6 separate regions of the Homo sapiens genome follow, and all the other regions are linked to region 1. The links are contacts of gene promoters, found by promoter capture Hi-C in blood cells and fetal thymus (Javierre and others, 2016). All regions are on one chromosome and are shown on one strand. Each heading gives the region's core, a stretch centred on a gene start or on the middle of the fragment in contact. The rest is flanking DNA. Distances are from core to core; before and after follow the strand shown.

The links. The method cuts DNA at HindIII sites, captures the fragments that hold promoters and counts their contacts. A CHiCAGO score of 5 or more calls a contact.
Region 2: a fragment that was not itself captured here is called in contact with the fragment with the promoter of RPP30 in region 1 in 15 of 17 cell types (total B cells, total CD4 T cells, naive B cells and 12 more); the score reaches 13.4 in total B cells.
Region 3: a contact is called between a fragment that was not itself captured here and the fragment with the promoter of RPP30 in region 1, in 8 of 17 cell types (naive CD4 T cells, fetal thymus, non-activated CD4 T cells and 5 more). The highest score is 11.8, in naive CD4 T cells.
Region 4: a contact is called between a fragment that was not itself captured here and the fragment with the promoter of RPP30 in region 1, in 7 of 17 cell types (M0 macrophages, naive B cells, naive CD4 T cells and 4 more). The highest score is 8.3, in M0 macrophages.
Region 5: a contact is called between a fragment that was not itself captured here and the fragment with the promoter of RPP30 in region 1, in 1 of 17 cell types (non-activated CD4 T cells). The highest score is 5.3, in non-activated CD4 T cells.
Region 6: a contact is called between a fragment that was not itself captured here and the fragment with the promoter of RPP30 in region 1, in 1 of 17 cell types (M0 macrophages). The highest score is 5.0, in M0 macrophages.

The regions. Positions count from the first base shown.
Region 1 is chr10:90,870,379-90,874,032 of GRCh38, reverse strand. RPP30 (ribonuclease P/MRP subunit p30) reads right to left here and starts at 2,059. Exons shown (of 11, transcript NM_006413.5): 1 at 1,965-2,059. The coding sequence starts at 2,046. RefSeq lists enhancers at 1,749-1,808, 1,939-2,208, 1,927-2,221. The HindIII fragment of the contact is 10,238 bases long and covers 1,648-3,654 here.
Region 2 is chr10:89,771,082-89,774,735 of GRCh38, reverse strand. KIF20B (kinesin family member 20B) reads right to left here. Exons shown (of 33, transcript NM_001284259.2): 32 at 1,905-2,047; 33 at 1-765. The coding sequence ends at 688. Among named protein-coding and RNA genes, the nearest start is that of LINC00865, 57 kb to the left of the region's middle. The HindIII fragment of the contact is 2,447 bases long and covers 825-3,271 here.
Region 3 is chr10:91,920,626-91,924,279 of GRCh38, reverse strand. It overlaps BTAF1 (B-TFIID TATA-box binding protein associated factor 1), which reads right to left and starts at 510. Exons shown (of 38, transcript NM_003972.3): 1 at 190-510. The coding sequence starts at 203. RefSeq lists enhancers at 1-167, 778-887, 1,235-1,768 and a silencer at 228-527. The HindIII fragment of the contact is 2,027 bases long and covers 730-2,756 here.
Region 4 is chr10:89,823,903-89,827,556 of GRCh38, reverse strand. LOC105378424 (a long non-coding RNA gene) reads left to right here. Exons shown (of 3, transcript XR_946196.3): 2 at 2,235-2,374. Among named protein-coding and RNA genes, the nearest start is that of LINC00865, 3.8 kb to the left of the region's middle. The HindIII fragment of the contact is 1,591 bases long and covers 772-2,362 here.
Region 5 is chr10:89,842,317-89,845,970 of GRCh38, reverse strand. No RefSeq gene overlaps it. Among named protein-coding and RNA genes, the nearest start is that of LINC01374, 9.8 kb to the left of the region's middle. The HindIII fragment of the contact is 2,367 bases long and covers 797-3,163 here.
Region 6 is chr10:89,861,620-89,865,273 of GRCh38, reverse strand. All of the region lies in intron 1 of LINC01374 (long intergenic non-protein coding RNA 1374), which reads right to left. Among named protein-coding and RNA genes, the nearest start is that of LINC01374, 9.5 kb to the right of the region's middle. The HindIII fragment of the contact is 8,705 bases long and covers 1-3,654 here.

The DNA of each region.
Region 1 (3,654 bases), core at 810-3,309:
TTGAGCATACAGGATAAATAATATAATCCTTCTCCACAAGAAATTTACAGCCTAGTCTGTTGGAGAACGAAGGCAAATAAGGCAATTAAGCAAGTCATTGTATATAAATACATGTTTTTTATAAGTAAGGATTCTATGGAAGTACATAGCACAGTGAAACCTGGTGTAGGGGTCACAAAAGGCTCCCTGAAGAAAGTTACCCTTAAAAACAAAAAAAAAATCACAAGTATGCCTGTACCTTGGGCTTCACCTTGCACCCAGTTAGTCAAATCAACCAGCCACACCTCCTCCCTATTCTTCTTTACCACACTCCCAAATCTGCTCTAAACTTCCTTGTTATACCCATTTAGGATATCCTTTTGGCTACTAAACAATGTCCCTACCGTTCTACAGAAATGTCAACTAGGATCTGTTTCTCCACAAAACTTTTTCCTAGACTACTCCTCATCTGGCAGCTTAGGAGTACTTACTTCCCCAATCAGGCTTTAGGGTATTTTAATTTACACAGTATATTTCTGAAGCTTATTATTGGTTTCTTGTATCACATCAGAAACTGAGAACCAGGGCTCTGTCTTTCCTATTCTTTGCAAATGTCCACTATTTAGTTCCAGACTCATCAAATAGCAGAGCAGTCCTTTGTCTTTGACTTGTAAGTTGAGGCAACTTTATATGCCATGAATTCCATTTAATTTACAAACAAATAACCACTAACAATGTACATATATTACCACACCTCTTCCAAGTGTATTTTAAACTGGGGGAAATTCTCTAAAGAAATCATTATTAACTTTTCTTTTTTGTATTAATTTTTTTAATGTGTTCAGTTTATTCCACAAGCATTAACTGAGTAACTGCCATGTACTGGTGCCTGCAGAGTGAACGTGTTAAGCACAGTAAATAAAAGGATAAGACATGGCAATTCTCTTAGGAAGCTCATGATTTATTCAAAAATGGGATGGCGTCAGGAAAAGCCTCATTGAGGAGGTAATAATTGCGACAAACTACACCTAGGAAAACTTATTTTACAGGATCAAAGAACATTAGCGCCAAATGGCCCAGATCATCATGTCTACTTTCGTCTTCGTGCTGATGAGCAAAGTACCACAGAGATAACGTTCATTTAGTGGCAGCAGTGGAAAGGGACAGTCATTTCGCCACGGATACTTCATAAAGAGAACAATAAAAAAGTGGTGTGATTCACTTTGCCAAGAAGTGGTTGTCATTTCTAGCACCACCTCTGAACAGTATCAGTAATCAGAACTCACAATGAGCTGAAAACTGTCTCTGAGGAGCAGATGTTACTACACGAACCTCTTGATTCTTTTTAATCTCTCTATTCCAACACTTTACAGTCTACGGAATACAGAACCCATGACTAACTCCAATAGTTAAAACAGGTTCTCGTCTCTCAAGGCTTTCGCTTCCCTTCGATTTGGGCCATGCTATCCTCCTCCTCCACCTCCACTCCGCTGTGTATGTCCTCTGCCCCCACCTACCCTCTCTCTGTCTAGATAGTATTGTTCCAACACTCCCACGTCCTCCTCCTTCTCCGAGCCTCCACGGCGCTTCCTGTCCGTGCCCCAAATTCCAGTATTTGTTTAGACACTGTCGTGAGAATCAGGAAGGGCTGATAGTAACTTAGAAGCTTAGAAGATTGTACCCTTGGAGTCCAGCTCCGGCTTCTGTCACCTATCAGCTGTAGGCCCCTATGCAAATCCCTCGCCCTCGTTAGGCCTCAGTTCCCTCATTGCAGGAAAGTAGCTGAACCAGATAACAACCCCCAGAACCTTCGAGTTTCCCGCGCTAGGAATCAGACCAACACCTCGGCGGGCATCAGCCTCCAGGGACATCCCAGAGACTCTGGGAGACCTGACCGAGACCCATCAGGAAATAGTTACTCCGGAGTGTGGCCCGATGGTCTGGGTGGCATGAGGTTGGCCAGGCGCGAAGCCGGGGCAACTCACGGTGAGCGGCTGTCTCCACAAGTCCGCGCAGAGCCTTCAGGTCAGAACCCGCTCGCAGGTCCAAATCTGCAAACACCGCCATGCTGAAGTCCCATGACCGTCCGCGCGCGCCAGTCTGCGCAGCCGCTGAGCCCGCCCCTCAGGCATGCTGGGAGCTGTAGTTAACCTGCGCAGTCCGTCTCTACCTCCAGTTGACTAGGGATTCGGAGAAACTTACTTGCTTTGCTTTCATCTACCACCAGAATTTGTGTGTTGAAATCAACAGCTTCATTTCAATCTCTCTTTGTCTTCTTCTGAACGACAATGTTTGGTTCCCCCTGGAGGGGTTCCAATTCCCAACTATTCAATACTCCTATAAAATAGTGTAGAAATGAATTCATTCAAAATGCACGCACACGGTATCTACTTAGTGCTGCTCATGAATCAGAGAATTCTGCTAATGGGTGAAAACGCTATTTAAAGAGTCTTAAAGAACACGTTTTCCTTTCCTTTCCCTAAAGTCCATTCCGTTGTTTACAATGGACTTACCGGGAAGAAGGCGTTTGTGTGTGACGGACTCTAGGACTTCAAAAGAGAACTACCCCAAGACGAGGGTCTTTTTACCCAATCAGAACTGTTGATGTCAAAGCCCGCTATTCTCTGTGGCAGTCAACATCTTCAACCACAAGATGGCGGGACTCGCTCTAGGACGAGCGGTTAGAGCCAACATTGATTTAGCCAAAGACATGTTTGAAAAGGGAGGTGCAAAATTGAGATGTTTTACACTTTTCCAGCTGAGAAATGTACAAGGTGACGCATATCCCACATATCTGATGTTTCCACTTTTTTCCGACTTAGTGTAAATGATCTATTGAGGATAATAATCAATTATACTACAAAAGTGTGACTATAGTTTACATCAGTGCTCTCAAACTACCTGTGATGAAGGATCAGTTTCTCCCTCCTTTTCCTCTACCCCCAAACTCTTCGCGAACCAGGATGTGGTCCTTTATGCATTACCAGTAAGCAGCCTGGCCTCATGGGAATCACAAATTTGACAACACTCGAACTGCCCTATACCTGGCTGAATAGAATCTGCTGATCAGGAGCTTGGATTATCAGGACAATGCCAAAGTACTGTAAACTTTCTAAACATCTTCACTTTTTGTTTGTTTGTTTGTTTTATTAACGTGCGCACAGCAACAACAATCACAGAATTAGAGGCTCGGTCATTTGACCTAGGGAGTATCCTAGTTGGTGGCCTGCTGAGTTTTCGTTTCGTTTTGTTTTGTTTTTAGAGAGAGTATCTCGTTATTGACCAGGATGGACTCTAACGCAAGCAATCCTCTCTCCTAGCTGTGATTACAGGAGCCCACCCACATGCTTCACCCATCAATTTCTCTTATTTACTGATCACAAACAGTTCACAGATAGTCTCTCGTCTATGGACCACACCTTAACTAGTACTCCTTTATGCGATTTTCTTGTCGGTCTCAGAAGGGAGGAAGGATCTGTTCCATGCAGTAGCATGCAATTCTCTTCTTGGTTAACTTTTGTAAAGAAGAGATATTTTGCCTTTTCCAGTACTTGATATTTCCTAAGTGGGAGTAGAAGAGAATATTACTTCTGCAAATAGAATAAGGTCATATGAAGCAAACGCTTTGTTTTTCATGAGAATATCTAGTGTTAATTTTGCAGGGTCACACAGGCA
Region 2 (3,654 bases), core at 799-3,298, 1.1 Mb after region 1:
AATAATAACTTACTTGTATATTTTTAAATGATCTAAAGAATGTAATTGGATTATCTGTAATTCAAAGGAAAAATGCTTGAGGGGATGGATACCTCATTCTCCATGATACACGTATTTCACATTGCATGCCTGTGTCAAAACATCTCACATACCCCGTAAATATATACATGTACTATGTACCCACAAAATGTTTACAAAATAAGTGAGACATTCTAATTAAAGACTTGAGATCTTTTCTAAATAATGTATATACATGTTTTGTGATCTGTACACACTTATTCTCCAAATCCTAGCTATAATCCAAACAGATATGTAAAATCAGTTGTATAACAGATAAAGTAAAAAAAATTCATAAGACATTGTTAAATATAAGTAAACCAAATACCTGACCTATTACATCCTGTATAGCAAAATAAATGAGAATAACAGCCTCTTTCCTAGGATCTTCACTGATCCAATGTCTGAGATAATAGGGAAATACAGTTTGAAAGAAGCTATTATAAAAAAGCCTTATAAAAATATACAAATTTTGACTCATTTATTGAATTAAAATTATACTATGTATAAAACAGCAATCTATATGCAGAGTGATTTAATGCATAATATATACATTTATATTTACAATACAGGATGCAAGTTCCAATGACTATGACTATAAAATTTATATTAAACATTTCCATAAGTGATTTATTTGGCTGTTTTTGTTCGAAGTCGTCGTTTGATAATCTGGTGATCACTCTCCTTCATTTTCTGGTCCATTAAAATCTGAAATTAAAAATTTCATAGTTTTTCAAAGCTTGTAAGTGAAAATAAAAATAAAAGCTTGTTTATAATGAGTAAGACATGTTCATGTGCTTAGTAACTGAAATGATACATTGGAGAATTTTTTTTACTTAGACTACAGATATGCCATCTTCTATAAAAATTTATTTAAAAAACAGACTTTGTAAAAGATTCAACACTATCAAATTCTAGAAGTAAAATAACCTAGACTCCATATTGAATTCAAGGCAGATATAACTTAAAATAATTACTAAAATATTTGGAGACAAGTGCCTCAAATAATTTTTAAGAAATGATCTTTCGTGGCAACAAATGTATAACTTAGAAAGTAGAAAGCACATTATATAGTAACTAAGAAAACAATTTTCAGCCAAGGGAAGAAATCAGGTACTAATCAAACAGATGCTCAAAAATGACTGACAGAATGGTACTTACAACACCATGCCCTAATTTACCCTAACTCTTTACATCTTGCATTCAAGTGTCAATCTCATATCTGAAAGCTCTTGTGGCAAAAAAGGTTTCTCCTGATTTTTCTTGGCCACTTCTTTTTAATTTTTTTAATTTCTTTTAATTATTTTTTTACCTTCACTTTCATCCACTAAGCAAATGCAAGCATGACAGAAAATTTGAGCTTTCCCTGTGACAGCACATACTGTTCTGAATCAGGAGAATGAATCATAGACTCAGGGTGATAACTACAGTCTCTTCCTAATAGATCCTCAAAGGCTTAGGGGAAAGGTGGGAGGAAATGGCTGAATGTCAGTTTTATATTTTTACCAGGAACACTTGGGCCCAGATTTGTACAACTCCCGTGATTTAAAAAAGAGAAAGAAAAAGAAAAAAAGATTGTGGAGGCAAATAAGTTACTAAATAGTGACAATTCTATTATTGGAAATAAATTCCTCTGATGCATTTTCAAATGCAAATGCATGACGCTTATATACATTTAATACAGTATTTATATTTAATTAGTATAAACTTAACACATGTGAGACTAAAAGCATGACCTTTATAGCATGTGTTTTCAGAGATCTAAAGAATTGAAATTCAAACCACTGTAAAAAATTAAAAAGAACACGAACAGTTCTACATTGATGAAAACAGAAATACTAGCTTACCACTTGGCCTGATATATCAATAGGAGATGAAATTTCACTTGTGTATAATTTCCGTTTGGCTCGTTTTGGTTGAGACACATTTTCTTTACTTGCTTCTACATTTGAGAGCTTTGAAGAGCTCATTGTTTCAATTATCTTCTTTGCTATAAAATAAAATTGTTAATTAGTTCCTGAAATAATTTTCTAATTGCAAAGGTGATTTGAAATCCTTAATAAAGATGGTTTGAAATCCTTAATAAAGAATGAACATACACAAACTAAAAACACTGCAATATATATATGGTGAAAGGGCATGAATAGACAAATCACAAAGAAAAAAAGTAAATGTCAAGAGAACATGAAATAATGATCGACAGCAAAAAAAAAGCAAATAAAGTATCATTTGATTAATGTTCAATGTAGTAAAAAACCTCAGGCATCTTTAATGACTTGGAAAATGTTTATGCTATGTTAAGCAAAAGAGCAGGATATATACATAGTGGATCATGCAGCATTAAAAATAAGGTGGTAGATGATCTAGTTCAATGCTCATGCATAAAGTTATGCACAATGAATGCTGCATGAAAATACTTTGTAAACCCTTTACTTCAAGTCCACACACAAATGGAGAGAAACCAAACTGTTAACAGCTGATTGCTTTTAGGGAAGTAGAATAGGAATTTTTAAATTCCTTACTATGTACATAGTACATAGTACTTTTTTTTAATAGAAAACATATTTCCATGTGGGAAAATTCCTGGATAGAAATTCACACACATGTGATATCAAATATTTTTTTTTAAATAGAAAAAACATTTAAGGCATTAGACTAAATTGAGAAGACTACTTGTTAAGGGCTGAGCTGGGCTTGAGAGAGCTGAGAGTCCAGGTATCGGAGAAGCCAGTTAAGACAACAAGCCAAAATGAAAGTAACAACCCAGCTTTTTAACCACTTATTTCAACAGTATATGCGAGAGACTAAACCTGAGAAAGCACCAGCTCCTACCCACCCTCTTCTATAGTCCACCACAGAATAATACAGATCAGCATAGAAGTGGTGGTCATTTTACCACCCAGGCAGCCCCAAACAAAAGGCTCTCGCAGTTTTATAGACCTCAGGGCTGGAGGTTGGAGGGAGCTATACGTGGAAAAGTACCGAGTTACAGTGGAGAAAAGCGTCTTCAAGGTTCCCCCTCCTGTTCCCCTCCATAAGAAGGCCTCCACCAAAGGCCTCAATAAAGAGGCTCTGAATGGAGGCACTCAGGCTAAATATGCAAATATGAGTAAGAGCATGACTAGCTTGGGGGATGCTGGATCCTTGACTATAACTCCCTTAAGAGATTATAATGCATTGGCTATGCATCAAGTCTGGTGTAGGAAGGGAAGCTTGTCAGGTAAGTCTTTGTAATTGCCTATGGTACAGCCTAAAAAAAATAGAAATGTTTAAAAATCATACATATGTTGGCCTAGAGCCAAACTCATCACTACTATGTGCTAGCCACTATACTAAGAGCTGACAGTATGAACTAGACAGACATTTTGTCCGTGCAGATTATATTCTAGTGTAAAAGATAATAAGAAAGCAAAGAATTACAGTTTAAAAAGTGCTAAGACAAAAAATAGGATTGAATAATAAAGATTAAGTGATGCTGGGGATGAGGGGTAGTGACAGGGTGATGAAGGAAGGTGTCTCCCTAATAACGTTCCATCAGCTATGAGGGCTCAAGGGTAAGGGGCCAGCTAAGACAAAAGCCAGGGTGTGTTCCAGATA
Region 3 (3,654 bases), core at 494-2,993, 1.1 Mb before region 1:
ACCGATTTACCCAGGAGTAACCCGAGCCCAAACCCCCGCCGACCACGGGGCGAACTCCGAAGTCTACTGAAGAAAGCTCCAGAGCCCAGTGACAATGAGAACCGCTCTTCTCTAGGAGTGGGGGCTCTAAGAGGAGACCATGCCTTCCCTGAATCGCCTTCCAGTTTGCTCGTCAGGAGCAAGACCCACCTGGAGACCGCCATGGCCGGGCGCCGGCGGTTCGGAGCTCCCCGCGACCTACGCGCCGCGCAGCTGAGGCGCTAGTTTCCAGAGAGCTGAGCGGCGCAGGCCCAGGCCGCGGAGCACAGGGGAGCGGCCGGTGCGGCGTGGGGCGTTCCAGCGCAGGCCCTCGGGCATCTGCCCTGCCGCCTACCCGAGCTCGTCCCCGCGGCGGCCGGTAAGCAGGGGTCCAAGACGGTAGCGGAGGCGGCAGTCCTCCGACCCGCACGACTTCAAACCGGGTACCCTCAGCTCCGCTCTTTGCTGACGCGGGCGTCGGCACGCACAACTGAGCGTCAGCGCGCCGGAAGTGACGTAAGCTCACCGACAGGAGCTTAGCTCGGCGCGAGCGCCTTTGGTTTGGCGGCACGCGCCTAAATAAAAGCGCTTTGTGCTGATGTGGAGAGGGTGTCTAGTCTTAAAACTAGGGAAGGAGGTGAAGTAAGGGTCCCCTTATTTGACAGAGAAGGAAAAAGGCGATTTAGTCCAAGTCCTGGAACTTCGAAAGCTTGGTTTCTAATTCCACACTACCCAGATTCTGCTTCCCACCGTACTGCATCTAGGAAGCAAGATCAGAAGGACCTTAACATGCTCTTGTCCAGGTGGTGAAGCCAGTGGGAGGAGTGAAAGCAAAAAGTCGCTATGACACTGAAGAAATGGCTCAGATGTTTGTCATTATTTGCCAGAAGTTCTGCCTAGGTATTGGAGAGAAGGTCTTCTGACCAACGATTTTGCCAAGTTTGATTTCTCAATTGTTTATGTTGTTTGTACCATCATTTTCTCAGCCAGCCAGATTTGAAAACTACCATTTTTAAATTTTTGTTCCTTTGGGGGACTTATCTGGCTTTTCAATATTTTTAAGTTCATTAGGCTTTTAAACACTTCTGCCAGGCCCTTATCATCTTACACTTGATTTTTTTTTTTTGACCGAGTTTCGCTCTGTCGCCCAGGCTGGAGTGCAGTGGCGCGATCTCGGCTCACTGCCAACCTGCGCTTACCGGGTTCAAGCGATTCTAAATGTGCCTCAACCTCCCGAGTAGCTGGGAGGCACACGAGCCCCACGCCGGGCCAATTTTTTGTATTTTTTAGTAGAGACGGGGTTTCGCCATGTAGGCCAGGCTTGTCTCCTGCTCCTGGCCTCAAGTGATCTGCCCGCCTCGGCCTCCCAAAGTGCTGGGATTACAGGTGTGAGCCACTGCGCCCGGCCCTTAAACTTGATTTTTATGCTAGTAGTCAAAATAATATTTCTCCAATTTTCAGTTCAGCCCATTTTATAGGCCAACAGATTAATCTTCAAAAAACCTCACTGCTTTTTATCATGTCGCTCCTATGCTTATAAAGCATGTCCATTGGCTTCTCATTACCTGAAGAGGCTATGTCTCAATCCTTGAGTCTGTTTTTCATCTGTAAAATGAGGCTAATGAGAAGTACTGCAGAAGATTGTGGGAATAAAATGAGGTCATGAATCTAGAAGAGCTTACAAGAACTTTGTAAACCATAAAGTAGTATATATGTATGTAAAGAGAAAGAAACTAACAAGTACCTGCTGTGTGCTGGGCACATGACATGCATTATCCATATAATTTGTAGGGAAGCCTTGAAAAGTTAGTTTTAATCTTCGTAGACAAGGAAACTAAGCTCAGAAAGGTTAAGTAATTTGCCTCAAGATTCAAGCTAGTAATAATATTTATTGTCCAGTCATTCAACAAATGTTTGTCACCTCTCTGTATCAGAAACTCTGCTTGGCGGTGTTCATGCTATTAAAATCTAATCAAGTTGATGTTCAAGATATCTTTACATTTTCACTTTAGTCACCTACTTGCCTCATCAGTTTATCTCCCACCATTCAATAACAAGCAGATACTTTTTACTGATCGTGTACAGCAATCATTTAGCCAAAATTAAGCACCTACCATATGAGAGACTGGAACTTCTGAAGAAACCAGAACAGACAAGGTGCCTACTCTGGTTGAATTTACATTAAAAGGAAAGGAAAAAGAAAATAGATAAACATTGAAAATATATTTATGTGCTATGTAAAGAGAATGATGGAATTAATGGTATGATTAAAGACCTACTCTTACTGGGTAAATCAGGGAAAAACAGGATTAGCTTAAGCTGAGCCCTAAATGACAAGAGGTAGCTAAATGTGTGACAATCTGGGAGCCTTCCAGGAAGAGGGTATACGTAGTGCAAAGGCGTAAGAGAAGTCTGCTCTGTTGGGAAATGAGATGGGAGAAGTAGAAAGGGATCATCGTAAGGAATTTGGACTTTGCTCCATATGAAGTAGAAAGTCATAGAGTTTTAAGCAAGTGAGTAAAATGATCTTAGTTATATTTTTTAAATCTTTTTATTATCAGATAATTGGGTATATAGTCTAAATGGCATTAGAAGAGAGGAAAGGACTGGTGGTGTAGATTTGTAAAGGATAGTGTAATAATCAAATATATTGATATTGGACCGGCTTGTTTTTAAATCCTTTCTCACCACACTGAATCGCAGTGTCTCCAGGGGGAATTTTAGAACCTCTCTAAGCTTCATCTGGGAAATGAGGATAATAATAGTACTCATAGGGTTGCGGTGATGATTAAATTAATGCACATAAAACATTTAACCAAGTGACTGCCACGAGAAGCCCTCAAAAATATTATTAACTACATTGCTTACTGTTTTTGTTAACAATGGAAACTTGAGTAAGTGGCAATTTCTAGTCTCAATTTATTCAGCTGTGAAACGGGGATAATAATAGTACCAGTTCACCACCGTTATCTATACCAGTTCATCACCCCTGCCAGATGGTTTTCTGAGTTAAGAATTATTTAGGTTTTGAAAAGAAATCCAATGAATATACCTTGTATTATGCAGCATCCCAACAGCTTGTAGGGCAGTACTCTATAATCAAATATATTTATAGAGCTGCAGCAAAATGTATGACTAACCATACTAAGAGGAATAAGTAAAAGACTATAGATAGGCATATGCCAGTTCAGGCCAGGATTTGCTGCCAAATATATATATTTTGAGATGGCATTTTGCTGTTTCCAAGGCTGGTCTTGAACTCCTGGGCTCAAGCAGTCCTCCCATCTCAGCCTCATGAGTAGCTGGGACTATAGGTGAGTTTTTAAAAGTGTGGTTTTCAGACCATTTTCAATTTCAGAATTGTAAATAATAGATCATGAACCTGTACTTATAGAATTGTCATAAGGAAGAAATGAGTTCATACATGACACACTTAGAAAATACTAAGTATTAGCCAGGTGTGATAGTTCATGCCTGTCATCCCAGCACGTTGAGAGGCTGATGTGGGAGGATCGCTTGAGCCCAGGAATTCGAGACCAACCTGGGCAACATAGGGAGACCTCATGTCTACAAAAAAAATTTTTTTTAATTAGGCTGGGTGCGGTGGCTCATGCCTGTAATCCCAGCACTTTGGGA
Region 4 (3,654 bases), core at 318-2,817, 1.0 Mb after region 1:
CTGTAATTTGGAGTTTCAGTTACAGCTACTCCAAATCCCAAATGATAAAATGTCTCTGTATTTCAATGGCCAACCACCTGACCAAAGCCCAGTCCATTTCACCTGAACTGCTGCAACAGCTTCCTAACTGTTCTATCCACATCCCACCTTGACCTCTTCCTCTGCTGAATTCTCCACACCTCAATAAGAACATGCTTGTAATATATATATGTATATATACGTATATATACATATATATGTATATATACATATATATGTGTGTATATATATATATATATATATATATGATCGAATCCTCCCTTTTTTTTACAATCCTTTAAGAAATTCCCATTAGTTTTAGAGTAAGTTTAAATTCTCAACATAGCCTATTCAATCTTACATTGTCTGGCTCCTAAAACTTCAGCTCATCCCTCGCTGCTTCCCCCCCTCACTCACTGGGCTCCAATCACATGGAAGTTTCAGATATCCTGTGCCCTCTACTGTTAGATTCACCTTAAATCTTCTGTCTCCAGTCCCTACTGCCTACTAAGTCTACTAATCAAATCTTTCGGGTCTCTGGTAAAATGCAACTTCCTCAGGAATTATAGTCAGGAATCATGACTATACTTTCTCATGACATCTTGGATTATGCCTTATAGTCCTTATTTCCTGCATGGTTAGCATGGTTATTTGTGCAATTATTCCTTTAATGTAGAGGTTTCAAATGGTATGTAGGACTAATCTGCTTACAGATGCATTCCATGGTCCACACAGTATTTCTTTTGAAAAGCTTTAATCAGTGCATTCTCTTTTTGGTTTGTCACACTTCCCATCAATTCACACCATTTCACAAATTTAGGTCCCTTTCCTGCCTCCTGCAGGCCTTTGCACATTTGGCCTGCCTCTCCTACTAAACTAGAGTCTCCATGAGGGTAAGGATGGTGCCTGTCTTCCTCATCACTCTATGCCCACTATCTGACATCCTTAAGACCTATCAAGGTGCTCTGGAAATCCTTGCCTAAGGAATAAAGCCAATGAATGAGCTGTTTTCATTGCCATTATTAGCAGCCTTTTTCTTCCTTTGGTTTTATTTTTAATACCAGATACCATAAGTAGATAAGTGTGGTGGAAGTATCCATTTGGTAACTATTTCACATGAAATTTTGAACAAATTTAGCACAAGACTCTGAACCTTAAGGCAAACTTTCACTTTTTATCCACTGGACTAAATAGAAAGTAAATTCATATAGTTACACTTTTGAATTTTGAGAAGTTTACAAAAATATTTCATCCAGGCCATTCTATTTCTATTCCCTAGGAGTTAGGCACCTCACTGACAGTGCCCCCAATTCTCCAAAGGCTTTTTAGCTCAAGGTTTAAAAAATGAAATGTAACTTTTAAAAAAGCAATCTGTCCTCCCTGATGGCAACTCCAAAAAATAAACCCAGATCACACTGCTTAAACGTTTTATGACAGCAAACATTGTGCTTAATACAAAACAGGAATTTTCAATTTGTCAATAATAAGAAAATGAAGATGCAAAACAAAATGTCTCTGTATTTTCCAGATATTTTATTTTTATGTTTCATATTTTCTTATTCTTCAAAGGGACAGAAGTTTGAGGTTTTGTATTTATTTTCTAAAGCTGTGGCCTTCTATATTTTGACAGAAAGTATTAGGGCTGAGTTACTTCTAAAAATTCCAGGTTCTCCACTCTTATAACACATTTACATTGACTTGAAAATTTTTCATTGCACCTACACACACATTTTTTGTAGGTTTTCCTCACTTGGTGAAGACTGCAATGTTGTTAATACCTCTGAAGCATTTTAGAGTTACCCAAACTCTAGATGAAAATTCTACAATAAGGAAATTCAGCAGGATGCTAAATAAGCAATATTGCTCTTTCTCTATAATTGTTGTCAAAATGTTAAAAGCTAAGCCTTCCAGCCAAAACAAAAAGAAATGATAATTTTCTGGATTGGATCAATGGTCCATTCAGGCCAATAGCATCTTCAACAATTCATTTGGGAGGTGATTTGCCCCTAACTATAATGTTAACAAGAACAGTGTTTCTCCAAGCATTTCAGAGTCTCTTAATCATGGTTCTTTTATTTGTGAATATATAAAAACATTTTTAAACTCATAATATTTCCCTTGACTTACTGTCCACCAGAGGAAGTGGTATTTTCTCTTACTTGGCTTAAGCATTCTTAAGCTGCAAAGGTAACTAACTACTCTCTCTTGTGTTCCAGGATTCAGTGAAACGGTCTCTATTGATAGCCAGATCAGACTGTGAATGAATGACCTTTTAAAACAGCCAGGTGTTTATCTCCCAGTGCATCCTTCCCTCTCTTCAGGATAAATCTTGGACAGTTAAGCTTATCCTCATGAGGTATCCTTCCCATGATATTTTTCCTGAAAAATTCCACTTGGCCTTTGAGAAGTGACTCACAACCATCTAAGGAAAAAGATACTCCAAAACAGGGCTCCAACTGGGTGGGCCTAGGCCATCTCAATGTCTCCAGTCCAGATCAACAAGGAACAGAAATACTGAGGGGTGGAAGAAATGACGAAGAAGCAGGGAGGAGGTTGGTAAGCAGTAGGCAGGTGAGGGGATCCACATCCACTGGATTGATAAGAAAGTTTGATTCCACAGCAAATACACCAGTCTAGAGTGTTCACAAAAACCCTTCAGACATTTTAGTTATGGGCACTGTCAAAGTTTGTTACAATCTTGCTTCAAGGACAAAGGCCTCCAGTAAGCCAATCAGAAATATTAATACATTCTTCATAAGAACATTTGATAGGAAAATACAAAAAGAAGAGAATGTTTGTTAAAAGCCACTAGATTGTTGAATGTCATTCAGTGGGGTAGATAGGTGACTGGTTTCCTAGAACAAGACTTTGGTCCATTAATGTTTTCCAGAATATTACTTAAGCATTTTGTCAGGAATGTTAATTTCTTCTCAGAATGAGGTTGCAAATTACATCATGTAAAAAGATTCCTTCCCACACCAGGTTTGGGGCAACTTCTCTTTTATAGTAGTCAGTTTCAAGGCAGTGACCAGAATTCATATGACAGTCAAGAATTGGAAACAATATAGCAGAGTGTGAGTTTTGCAGTCAAACGGACCTGAGTGGTGAACCTTAGTATTAGCTGATTCATGTGTAAAATGAGGGTAAAATAATAACTACCTTGTTAGGGAGGAGATACTAATAAATACTATTTCATTCTTGTTATTTATTTTCTCTGAATTTTTACAATTGATCACTTTTATATTAATCATTTTTATTCATCATCTTAATAATAAAAAATATTTGTTATTATTTTAAAGCATTATTATTTAAACATATTTATTATTTTTATGTGCTCATAGCAGCCAGGATCTGTATCTCCACATATCATTGCCTATTTCAAGGTCCTGAGGTAAGGTTTTAAAATTTAGAAAACACTTGAACACCAGAATCTGTTAGGCAATGTTATTCAAACACTAAGTTCCCCACACTATGGAAGTCAGGCAAAGTCCTAGACCAAATACCATTCTGAGCAAAGTTTTCACATACAAAATAATGTGTTAGTAGAACTAACTGTCTCTTCCCAGTAGCCCATTGCCATGGTAATCCACCAGACAAAATAGGATCGAAGAAAATATTTCTAATGCTTTCTTGTTC
Region 5 (3,654 bases), core at 731-3,230, 1.0 Mb after region 1:
ACAGACAACCTGCATTGATGACATCTGGAAAACTACTTAAACAGAGCAAAGACTTGCTTAGTTGATCACACACACGTTATTAATTCCATTACTGTTAATAACTTAAATTCTTGCTTCAGGCTGGAATATAATAAGAAGTATATGTGGCAAAATGTGCTCATTCCCCCTTCTCAACTAAACACCTGGACAAAGGCATCTTAGAAACAAAATCATCAGGATAAAAGAAAGAATTACTCAGATGCAATGGTTAATAATTAATAATCATTCCACCCACACACGAGGATTCCACCTTTATTGTTAATGAGCTAAGGACTCAAGGGTTACATATTTTCTGTGTGTATTTTTTAAATTTCTTTTCAAGCATTCAATAATTATTCTCAAATTATCCTTCAATATGAGCAAGAGGCTACAGAAAAGATGGTTATTCTCTCATAAGCATTCACAACATGATCCCAATACACGCCAGACTCGCCTCTGCCATTTTCTCACACCCACCTGTGTTCCAGCCACACAGAATGTCTTGCTCTTCCCAAGCTATGGAATATTGTTTATCTGAAATTCAAATTGAACTGAGTGTTCTCTATTTTTATTTACTAAATCTGGAAACCTACCCAGATCACACTTTGCCCTCAAAGCTCCCGGAGTTTGTCACGCTACGCCTTTCACTTAGGATGCCGTCCACCAGTCCCCTCCCCCGGATAAATTCAGTCTCCAAAAAAGGGAGGCTTAGAGTTTAGTGGAATGAAGTGGAAAATAGAGTATAGCACACATAGGTTAATCCTTGTCTTGTCAAGCTTAAGTTTCTGTGTGTGTGTGCGTGTGTGTGTGTGCATGTGCTGATTCAGTGTAAAATGTATTTTTTATTGTTAAGTTATGGTTAAAGTAGAATGAAAGCCTCTGAGCAACCTCTGAGCAAACCTCTGAGCAACCTCAGGATCAGCTGTAATTCTCAGTTATTATTTCTTGTGATCTCCTAGCATTCCTTTCAAACATTTTCAATGGCTCCTCATTTCATACATAGGCTTTCCATAATCTGGCCCCAACCTCTTACCCATCTCATCTCACAGCTAACTCCATTACACAAACCATCCACCTCAGATAAATGGCCTGCTTCCTTCCCTGAATCTATGACACACACTCTGTTTCATAAATTGTGTTTGCCTTCTCCCACAGTCACTCCACCACCCCTGCCAAACCCGGCCTCTCTCCTCTTTCCTCTCTCCTCTCTCCTCTCCTAAGGCTCACACTTACTTAAAGCTCAAGTTATGTTTGTGTAACCTTAAACAAGGCACTTCCCATCTGAGCACAGGGTCTTTGTTGACAGAATCAGGGAATTGGGGGAGAGATCTGGCAAGATGGCCAAATAGGAACAGCCCAAGTCTGCACCTCCCAGTGAGACCAACGCAGAAGGTGGATGATTTCTGCATTCCTAACTGAGGTACCCTGTTCATCTCATTACAGTGATCAGTGGTTTTTATTCCAGGGATGCAAGGATGGTTCAACATATGTAAATCATATGTAAATCAATAAATGTGTTTCACCATATAAAGAAAATTAAGAACAAAAAACATATCTCAATAAATGCAGAAAAAGCATCTGATAAAAATCCAACATCCCTTCATGATATAACTAGACATTGAAGGAACATACCTCCAAATAATAAAAGCCACACATTACAAACCCATGGCCAACATCATACTGAAAGGAGAAAAGCCAAAAGCATTTCCCCTATGACCTGAAACTGAACAAGCCTGTCTACTCTCACCTCTCCTATTCAACATAGTACTGGAAGACCTAGCCAGAACAATCAGGCAAGAGAAAGAAATAAAAGGCATCCAAACTGAAAAAAAAATAAAAGTCAGATTATCTCTTTTCACTGATGACATGATCCTATACCTAGAAAACCCTAAAGATTCCTTAAAAATACTCCTAGACATAATAAATGACTTCAGTAAAGTTCAGTAAAGTTTCAGAATACAAAACCAATGTACAAAAATCAGTAGCATTTATATACCCCAATAACACTCAAGCTGAAAACCAAATCAAGAATTCAATTCCATTTACGATAGCTACATATAATAAAACTAAAATTAAATACCTAGGAATATATTTAACCAGAGAGGTTAAAGATTCCTACAAGGAGAAATACAAAACACCAATAAAAGAAACCATAGACGACACAAACAGAAAAACATCCCATCTGGGCACAGTGGCTCGTGCCAGTAATCCCAACACCTTGGGAGGCCAAGACAGGAGGATCCATTGAGCCCAGGAGGTTGAGACCAACGTGGGCAACATAGAGAGACCTTGTTTCTACAAAAAAATTAAAAATTAGCCAGCCATGGTGGCTAACACTTGTAATCCCAGCTACCTAGGAGGCTGAGGCAGGAGGATTGCTTGAGTCTGGGAGGTTGAGGCTTCAGTGAGCTATGATTGTGCCACTGCACTCCAGCCTGGTTAACAAAGTGAGACCCTGTTTCAAAAAAAAAGAAAAAGAAAAGAAAAATATTCCATGCTCATGAATTGTGAAGAATCAATATCTTTAATATGGCAATAATTTATTGCCCAAAGCAATCTGTGGTTCAGTACAGTTCCTATCAAATTACCAACGTCATTTTTCACAGAAAAAGAAAAAACAATTCTAACACTCATACAGAACCAGGAAAGAGCCAGATTAGCAAAGCAATCCTAAGCAAAAGAAAAAAGCTGGAGGTATCACATTACCTGACTTCAAATCATACTACAAGGCTGTAGTAACCAAAACAGCATGGTACTAGTATAAAAATAGACACATAGATCAATGAAACAAAATAGAGAACCAGAAATAAAGCCACATACCCACAACCAGCTGACCTTTGACAAAGTAAACAAAAATAAGCAATGGGAAAAGGGCACCCTATTCCATAAAAGGTGCTGGGAAAACTGGCTAGCCATATGCAAAATAATGAAATTGGACTCCTATCTCTCATTTTCTACAAAATTACTCAAAATGAACTAAAGACTTAAATGTAAGACTTGGAACTATAAAAATCCTAGAAGAAAACCTAGAAAATAAATACTCTTTTGGACACTGGCCTAGGCAAAGAATGTATGACTAAGGCCTCAAAAGCAAATGCAACAAAAACAAAAACAGATAAATGGGGCTTAACTAAACTAAAAAGCTTCTGCATAGAAAAAAAAAAGATTAAACAGATAACCCACAGAATAGGAGAAAAATTTGCAAATTATGGCTCCAACAAAGGACTAGTATCCAGCCTCTACAAGAAACTCAGACCCCTCTACAAGAAAAAAAAATGACCCTATCAAAAAGTGGCCAAAGGACAAGAACAGACATTTCTCGAAGACATACATGCAACCAACAAATATATGAAGAAATGTTCAACATCACTAATCATCAGAGAAATGCAAATTAAAACCACAATGAGACATCATCTTACACGAGTCAAAATGGCTATTATTGAAAAGTCAAAAAATAGTAGATGTTGGTGTGGATGTGGAGAAAAGAGAACACTTACACACTCTGGTTGAGAACGCAAATTAGTAAAACCTCTATGGAAAACAGTATGACGATTTCTCAAAGAACTAAACATATAACTACCATTTGACCCAGTAATTCCACTACTGAGTATCCACCCAAAAGAAATCATTACATAA
Region 6 (3,654 bases), core at 541-3,040, 1.0 Mb after region 1:
ATGTCTCAGGAACGGATTTGGGAGTATAATTTGTATACTCACATAAGGTTGGGGCTAAATAAGGTCTCCCGTGTCAGCTCTTACACTTTCTAGTCAAGGAAAGTGATATAGGAAGATGTGTCTTGCCTCAGGTCATAAACCTTCAAAATAAAGAAACTGGGGGAGCCAAGACTAGAACTGATGACTTTTTACACTTCCAGATGTACCAGGACTTCTCCTAAAAGAAAATATATCAATATGAACTTACTGCCCAACATGGTCCCTGAATTTTCAAGCCCCACATTTCCACATAGGGTGCTCTCTCCCTAGTGCACAATATATAGAGATCCCTGCTGTCCTTGGGATCCGCTCTCCTTGACCTCAGCGTTGCAAGCAGGTTAATTCTAAAAACATTTTCTGATTGACAGAAATATTTTGCTGAAAAGTAATACAATTAAGGTACACGCTGAAAAACCAATCTGAGGCTGATTCTACCAAATTAACCTATCGGAACAAATTGACAGGTCACTTCAGGAAAATCACCAGTTAATCTGGTTTTTTTAAAACTGAATTCTCAAAGATAGAATTGACTGCCTCTTTCATCAAGGGCTGTCTTTTGTCTTAATATCATACTGGCTCGCTGTCGATAAAAATGAAACATTTTATTTCTCAAATCCTCATCCTCAATTGGTTCATCTTATGCTCCAGTGGGTAACATTTCTACTTTTTGAGACTTTTGAGAGTTTAAATGGCTTGTATCATTTTGCTTGGGATTTTTGTTTTCTCTAGAATTGAAGGAGAAGTGAATTTCACTGACCAGTAACAGAGTAAGTATTTCTGGAATCTGCTCAAGTTTGCACATAGAATTTAGCATCATCTTGATTATTTAAAAATTTAGCTGTGAACATAAATATCTAAATATATCTGCCTACACATATAGACAACTGATTTCCTCAAGAATTAAATATGAAGATTTATTTATTTGTTCATTCAAGGAATATTTTATTTAGAAATAAATATATTCTCAGTGGTTCTGTGCTAGTGGTAATATTTAAAAGATTGATACAACAAAGTCCGTGTCCTCAAGTAACTTACTGCCTGGAGAAAAAAAGACAGTCAACTAAGCAAACACCAGATGCAGTAGGTAGGAAACAGAACAATCTCTCCATGTCTCATTACAAAATCTTTATCGCCCATTAGTCCAGAGAGGGGTGAAGGAGGCATCTATCATTCTGGTCTGAAACACTGGCACACAGTAAGAAATAGCATGCCCAGTGATGCTAGGTCTAGCCTGTGGGAAAAAAAACACAAAAACTGTAACTTAGATGTTTATATTTAGTCCTATCTCAACTTTTCCCTCTCGCCACTCTCAGCTCCAGCTATAAAATTATCCCTCCATTGCCACTTGACATTAATGAGAAATAATAATAATAGCTAACATTTATTACTACCAGGCAGGCACTACACTATGTTCCTGACATATTGTTGTGCATTACATCCTAATGGCAACTACTAGATAGCATCATCATTATCCTCATGTCAGTATAATAAATGGAGAAACATAAAGGCTAAAGAATTTGCACAAAGAATTTGGACTCAGGTAATCTGCTCAGTATCCAATGTCTACACCATCATTGTTTACTGGAACTGATACACTAAATCATTTTTCTGACCAAAAACTAGTGTATGGTGTCCCACTTCCCACCCCTTTCCCCTCAAAAGCTATTTTCATTTTAAAGAACGACTTGATTTAAAAGCCTTCTGCACAGCAAAAGAAATAACCAGCAGAGTGAAAAAAACAATCCACAGAGTAGGAGAAAACATTTGCAAACTATATATCTAACTAAGAACTAATATCCAGAACCTACAAGGAACTCAAACAAATCTGCAAGAAAAAATAATAATAATCCCATCAAATAGTGGGCAAAGGACATGAGTAGACAATTCTCAAAAGAAGATATACAAATGGCCAAGAAAAATATGAAAAAATGCTCAACATCACTAATTATCAGGGAAAGACAAATTAAAACCACAATGAGATACCACCTTACACCTGCAAGAATAGTCATAATTTAGATATCAAAAAATAATAGATATTGGCATGGATGCAGAGAAAAGGGAACACTTTCACACTGCTGGTGGGAATGTAATGAGTATAACCACTATGGAAAATAGTATGGAGATTCCTTAAGGAAATGAAAGTAGAGCTGCCATTCGACCCAGCAGTCCCACTACTGGATATCTACCCAAAGGAAAAGAAGTCATTATATGAAAAAGACACATGCACACACATGTTTACAGCAGCATAACTCGCAATTGCAAAATATGGACCCAATGTAAATGCCCATCAACCAATGAGTGGATAAACAAATGTGGTATATATGCACCATGGAATACTACTCAGCCTTAAAATTGAATGGAACTATGGCCTTTGCAGCAACTTGGATGGAGTTGAAGGCCCTTATTCCAAGTAATGTAACTCAGGAATGGAAAACCAAATACCATATGTTCTCACTTAAAAGTGGGAGCTAAGCTATGAGGAGGCAATGGCATAAGAAGGATATAATGGACTTTGAGGATTTGGCAGGGAAGGATGGAGGAGGGTGAGGGATAAAAGACTACATATTGGGTACAGTGTTCACTGCTCAGGTGATGGGTGCATGAAAAACCTCAGAAATCATCACTAAAGAACTTATCCACGTAACCAAAAGCCACCTGTACCCCCAAAACTATTGAAATTAAACAAATAAATAAAAATTAAAAAGAAGGACTTGAATCCATTGTGTTGGAATGTCAGGCATTGTGAAATGATAAGGGGACAGCACACCCAGAGATGCTACTACGAGGTCCTCCAGCCTATTGAAAAAAAACTCTATCTTAGTTGTTTATATTTTGTCCTATTTCAACTTTTCCCTCTCTCAACTCCCAATGCCTGGGAACAGACCCTGATACTGTCCCTAAAAAGCACCAAACAGTCATTTGGCATGTACTTTTAAGAAGCAGGGAGCTGAACAAATTAGGCTTTAGATTAATATGCAAATGACTCACATAACAATTAAAAAGGAGTCAAAGTCTGTTCCTGACTCACTTTCATCCCCTCTTGAGAGCTGAGAATTAGGCCCCAAACACCCTGCCATAAGCCCAGTAATCTCAGCAATTACTGTGCACACATAAGTGGCATGAGTCATCCCAGCTCATGCAAGATGAAGAGTCTGAGGTAACAATCACATTTTAAGGCACTTTAAACTTTTTCAAGTAGGGCTCTGTTTCGTTTTTTTAACTTTCACTGCACTTCTTCCCAAGTTAAAAGGATAGCTATAATAATACCTATCCTAAAGATAAACTCAGAACCAGCCAAGCATTACCCCACATAACATGACTACCAAATGCCAGAGCCTTACTCTTGCTAGGCACAGCTCTTTCTATAACTTGCTTTTCTCCCTGTGAACTGTTTCTCATCCTCCAAAACCCAACACAAATGCCACCTCTTCTGAGAAGACATCCCCCAGGAGGAATGAGTCACTCTCATCTTCTGTGTGCTCTCAAAACAGTTTGTAACACACCAAATATCTCTTGTAGCCCTTGTGTATTGGTTCTGGTTAGAGGGACCTCTTTTATACATCAAGAGTGCTTAGTATAGCACAGGGGTCGGCAAACTGCAGTGTGCAGACCAAA